2 separate regions of the Homo sapiens genome follow, and region 2 is linked to region 1. The links are contacts of gene promoters, found by promoter capture Hi-C in blood cells and fetal thymus (Javierre and others, 2016). All regions are on one chromosome and are shown on one strand. The core of a region is centred on a gene start or on the middle of the fragment in contact, and the rest is flanking DNA. Distances in the headings are between cores, read along the strand shown.

What was found. Contacts are between HindIII fragments. The CHiCAGO score rates a contact against its expected background, and 5 or more counts as called.
Region 2: a contact is called between a fragment that was not itself captured here and the fragment with the promoter of ADCY4 in region 1, in 1 of 17 cell types (naive CD4 T cells). The highest score is 5.2, in naive CD4 T cells.

What each region holds. Positions count from the first base shown.
Region 1 is chr14:24,333,750-24,336,380 of GRCh38, reverse strand. It overlaps ADCY4 (adenylate cyclase 4), which reads left to right and starts at 1,310. Exons shown (of 25, transcript NM_001198568.2): 1 at 1,310-1,887. The coding sequence starts at 1,729. It overlaps RIPK3 (receptor interacting serine/threonine kinase 3), which reads left to right. Exons shown (of 10, transcript NM_006871.4): 10 at 1-356. The coding sequence ends at 206. RefSeq lists silencers at 1,604-1,683, 1,754-1,913, 2,574-2,631. The HindIII fragment of the contact is 4,552 bases long and covers 222-2,631 here.
Region 2 is chr14:24,291,358-24,293,988 of GRCh38, reverse strand. It overlaps DHRS1 (dehydrogenase/reductase 1), which reads left to right. Exons shown (of 9, transcript NM_001136050.3): 5 at 1,205-1,337; 6 at 1,659-1,805; 7 at 2,364-2,433. It also overlaps a transcript of NOP9 not described here. Among named protein-coding and RNA genes, the nearest start is that of DHRS1, 7.1 kb to the left of the region's middle. The HindIII fragment of the contact is 4,352 bases long and covers 1-2,631 here.

The DNA of each region.
Region 1 (2,631 bases), core at 61-2,560:
ACATATACAACTGCTCTGGGGTGCAAGTTGGAGACAACAACTACTTGACTATGCAACAGACAACTGCCTTGCCCACATGGGGCTTGGCACCTTCGGGCAAGGGGAGGGGCTTGCAGCACCCCCCACCAGTAGGTTCGCAAGAAGGCCCTAAAGATCCTGAAGCCTGGAGCAGGCCACAGGGTTGGTATAATCATAGCGGGAAATAAAGCACCTTCCAAGCTTGCCTCCAAGAGTTACGAGTTAAGGAAGAGTGCCACCCCTTGAGGCCCCTGACTTCCTTCTAGGGCAGTCTGGCCTGCCCACAAACTGACTTTGTGACCTGTCCCCCAGGAGTCAATAAACATGATGGAATGCTAGTCAGTCTGAGCTCAGCCAGGGGCAGGGAGGGACTGGGATGGGGGTGGGAGCTGCCAGTGAGGGATAGGGAGGCACCACAGCTCTGCTATGGCAGGAAGTGGGGATGCTGGGGGCTGGGAGTGGGCAATGGCCTGGCACACAAGGTCAGGGCACAGCCGGCTACAACAGGAAGGAATCCTAGAGGCCTGGTTCCCCAGACCACTCTCTAATCTCAGGGCAGTGCTTCCTCTAAAGCCTAGGATGGCGACCCCACCCTAACCCTAAACTCTGGGGATAGAGGCTGTGGTCCCTTTTCTTCCGGGCTCTCAAGACTCACTTGCAGGGCTCTGGCGAGGGATGAGTTGATGTGAAAGATCACAGACCTGGCCCCGCACGGTGCCCCCAGGCTCTTAGAGATCATGACGCCACATACCTGCCTCCACCACACACTCAGGTTGCTTCCTGGACATTGCTTCCCTTTTGATTCCCAGTTGCTGTTCGGGAGTGGAAAGCTATGGCTCCTAAAGCTATACACAGGCGCAACCCCTCCCACGGAGCATGAACAGTTCAAACCCGGTGGTAGTGGTTGCCAGCCAAGCGGAGAGGTCAAGAGAATGAGCGCCCCCAACTCTGACCTAGATCCCCACCAGGACCCACATTCTTCCCTACATTCTCGCCAGGCTTCAGCCCCCCGCCCTCGGTCTCCCCACTACCAAACGTTCACCTCCATTTGGACACATCCCATTGGGTCCACCCCAGCCCACCCCTTCGCATCTCTCCCAGGGTCCACATTGCCCTTCCCTGAAGGGGCTGAAGCGGGGAGGCGATGGTGTTAGGAGAGACAAAACCAAGTGCGGGAGGAGACCAGGGGAGTCCGGCTTTGGCACAGGAAGGGGCCGGGCTGTCCCGTCGGGGAAGTGGGAGGGGGCCGCGGCGCCGGGAGGGAAGCGCCTGTCGCCCGGGACTCTGAGCCAGAGCGCAGCGGCGAGCGTGACTCCGCCATCAGGTCCCCGGCTCCCTCCCCGGACCTAGCCCACTCCGCTGCGCCAGCGCCGCGGGCAGTGAGTTCGGGGATCAGGGGAACCCGGGGCTCCCTCGCACCAACCCCAAATCCTGCCCTCCTGGCGATGAGGCTTTTCTAGGGCACCTCTACAATCCGGGTTTGAGGGAGGAGGAGGAAAGGACTGAGGGATCCCCTCATCGCCAGCTGGGAGCGGGCTGGGAGGCCGCAGGGAGGGCCTGAAAAAGGAGACGGGATTGCCACGAGGTTGGGGGCGCGGGGTGGTAGCGGCTTTGAGCGGGTGAGAAAAGCTCAGGTGGGGCCCGCCGGGCCGAAGGAGGTAACCCGGCGCCCGGCCCTAGCCAGCCCCGGGGCTCGGGGCTGGGGAGATCATGGCCCGCCTCTTCAGCCCCCGGCCGCCCCCCAGCGAAGACCTCTTCTACGAGACCTACTACAGCCTGAGCCAGCAGTACCCGCTGCTGCTGCTGCTGCTGGGGATCGTGCTCTGTGCGCTCGCGGCGCTGCTCGCAGTGGCCTGGGCCAGCGGCAGGGTGAGCCGAGCCTCTGCTGCGGGAGGGTCTCTACCTGGGGAGCATTTTCGGGGTTGGGGTTTGTGGGGTCTTCTTTTCGATGTGTTTTCGTTGCTGGGAGCAGAGAAAGAAAGGACCATTGAGCCTGGCTAGGAACTGCAGTGACCCTGGGCAAGTCACTCTACCCTTCTGGGTCTGCTCAGGGAGAAAGCTGAGTCCTGGATGCTTCTCGTTTCTGTCCGGGTTCTGACAGACTTTATGAACATCCGTGGTCTACGGGTTCTACAATAAATCCATCACCGGATTTTCCAGTTTTCCAAAGGGGAAATTCTAGGAGGCCCCTGGGGAATTCATTTCCTGCCTTTCTCTCCCTCTTAGGGGATGTAGAGCAGTTGTACCCACAGACTCCCAGAAGGCACCCTCCACCGGGCTCTCACTGAGTCCCAAAGTAAACCCATGTCCAGTTTCTGTTTGGGGAGGAAGAAGGTCTTCAATCCAATTCTAGAAATGGCCTGCCCCTGGTTTTCTTTTCACTGCTTGGAGGCAAGGTGGGAAAATCACCGGGCGCGGCCAATCCTTGCTGGTCCACGCCTAAATCCGGGAAGAGGTGGGGACAAAATGCTGGGACGGCTGTGCAGCTTCTGCTTGGAGTTGAGGCAGGTGGCGAGATCGCAGCCCTGGTGGCCAGGGAGGTGCGGGACGCCGCGGGTCCTGGCGCCCCCTGCTGCTCGAGCGCTGCCTCGCGCCGCCCTTCAAGCTGCCGGC
Region 2 (2,631 bases), core at 48-2,547, 42 kb after region 1:
CTGATTTGACAGGTTCCTTTCGTAATACATTGCGTTCTCACATACACTTGTATCTAATTATTCTCTGTTTTGTTTCATTGACTTATCAGTCTACTGTTAACACCTGTATTGCATTCTTTTAACTATTATGTCTTGTACATTTTAATTTATTTTATTTTATTTTTTAGAGACGGGGTCTTGCTGTGTTGGCCAGGCTGGTCTCAAACTCCTGACCTCAAGCAATTCTCCCATCTCAGCCTCCCAAAATGCTGGGATTACAGGCATAAGCCACCATGCCTGGCCCCTGTGCATTTTAATATGGGTGACAGCAGGGGTAGGGAAAGCAATCCCCCTCACCCACAAGACATTAGTCTTTTTAGTCCTTTTTTCGGAATTTTCCTGGCTGTTCTCTTTCTTTTTATTTATTTATTTATTTTTGAGACAATCTCACTCTGTCAGCCAGGCTAGAGTGCAGTGGCACAATCTCAGCTTACTGCAACCTCCGCCTCCTGGGCTCAAGAGATCCTCCTGCCTCAGGCTCCCGAGTAGCTGGGACTATAGGCACGTACCACCACACCTGGCTAATTTTTGTATTTTTAGTACAGATGGGCTTTCACCACGTTGGCCAGGCTGGTCTCAAACTCCTGAGCTCAAGTGATCTGCCCCCCTCGCCTCCCAAAGTGCTGGGATTGCAGGCGTGAGCCACCGTGCCCAGCTTTTCTGGCTGTTCTCACGTTTATTCTTCTCATTGAGCTTTAGATTATTTTATCAATTCCTCCAAAAGGTCTTATTGAGCTATAATCCAATTTGACTGAATCTATGGATTGATTTACATAGAAATGATGATTTACATGTCAGTTCTTAGCTTTGAAAGATTTTGTCTGTACTTATTGTCATGGTTTTATAGTTTTTCTATGTAGACACTATACATTTCTTAAGTTTTCTCCCCCTGAACAATTTTGTTTGTAATTGTTATTGTGACAGGGCTCTTGCGTTCCATTTCTTCTTCCAAAGATTGCTGTTTCTCATCTGTCAGTGGTTATTTTGACCAGTTTTCCTCTCAGAATATGGCCTCAAGCCCCTAATTCCTCAGGTCGCTAACCCACCCTGTGTAGCCTTCCTAGTGGACAACAACCACCAGAAGGCAGGGGAAGCCGCCAGAGGCTGTGGCACCCAGGCCAGCACTAACACGGTTCATTCCTTCTTCCCTTGCCCCACCTTCTAGAGGCCACTACTTTTGCTCAGTGTATGGGGCACGGCTGATGGTACCAGCTGGCCAGGGGCTCATCGTGGTCATCTCCTCCCCAGGAAGCCTGCAGTATATGTTCAATGTCCCCTATGGTGTGGGCAAAGCTGCGGTGAGGACCCAGTGGCATAGGAGCTGAGGAGGTAAAAGACAGTGATGTTACCTATAGCTCAGGAGGTACAATCCCCAGTGGTCAGAATGGTAAGGCTGGCTCCTCTCAGCTCCTCCTCTGCCTCATCCATGGACAGTTCCTTTGCTTGTGCTCCTCTTGGTTGGCTAGAGTAGGCATCACACTGGGGAGCGTGGGCAGCTGAGACCTTGGGGCTCCTGGGAAGGACAGGGTGGGTGGAGCATTCACAGTAGAAGCAGAGAGGGCAGGGCAGGAAAGTGACATGGCTAGGTGGCTCTTACCCTGCCTTCCGCCTCTCCACAGTGTGACAAGCTGGCTGCTGACTGTGCCCACGAGCTGCGGCGCCATGGGGTCAGCTGTGTGTCTCTGTGGCCGGGGATTGTGCAGACAGAACTGCTGAAGGAGCATATGGCAAAGGAGGAGGTCCTGCAGGATCCTGTGTTGAAGCAGGTTGGCAAGGGGAGGGCGAAGGAAGCAGAGAACAGGGGAGTCGGCCTCTGCATCCTCAATAACAAGATCAGATACTCCCACTCACCAGGTGCTTACTGTGGCAGGTGCAGGGCTGAGCATGGGACACACATTATTTCCTTTAATCCTGTAAGGGAGATACCAGCTCCATTCTACAGATGGCAAAACTGAAACCCAGAGAGGTTTAGAAACTTGTTGAAGGTCACATATGTCCTAAGTGGAAAGGCTGTCTAGCTCCAAAGACCATGCACTTGACCCCCACACCAGCTAGCTTAGAAGGTCCAAACACTATTTGGCACTACCAGATCCTTCCACTTAGCAAAGACAGCAGATCCTGGTGCCAGGGCACAGGGCTCACCTGGATGTGGGGAGGAGTGGCTCTGGCACCTGCCAATACTTTGGGTCCTACAGGCCCTGCTTGAGGTCTTTGGCCTCTTTGGTCTTTGGTCTTTTTCTCCTGGAACAGAAGTTGAAATGGGGAGGAGACCTGGGCAGTGCTCTTGGAAATTAACCCTTCACTTCTCTGCCCCTGTGTTTCAGTTCAAATCAGCCTTCTCATCTGCGGAAACCACAGAATTGAGTGGCAAATGTGTGGTGGCTTTGGCAACAGGTGAAGTTTGGGGGCAGCTGGTAATAAGAAAGGGCATGGAGGATGTGTAGTGCGGTAGCATCCAGTGCCCAGATCTGGCTCGGGAGTTGGTTGAGGAACATGTCATTCTTTTCTCTGCTTTTTGAGGCCCAAGGGGTCAGCATTCCCAGTTTGAGGTCTGAGAGCCTTAGGAGCAGGCTCCTGGGAAGTGTGGAAAAA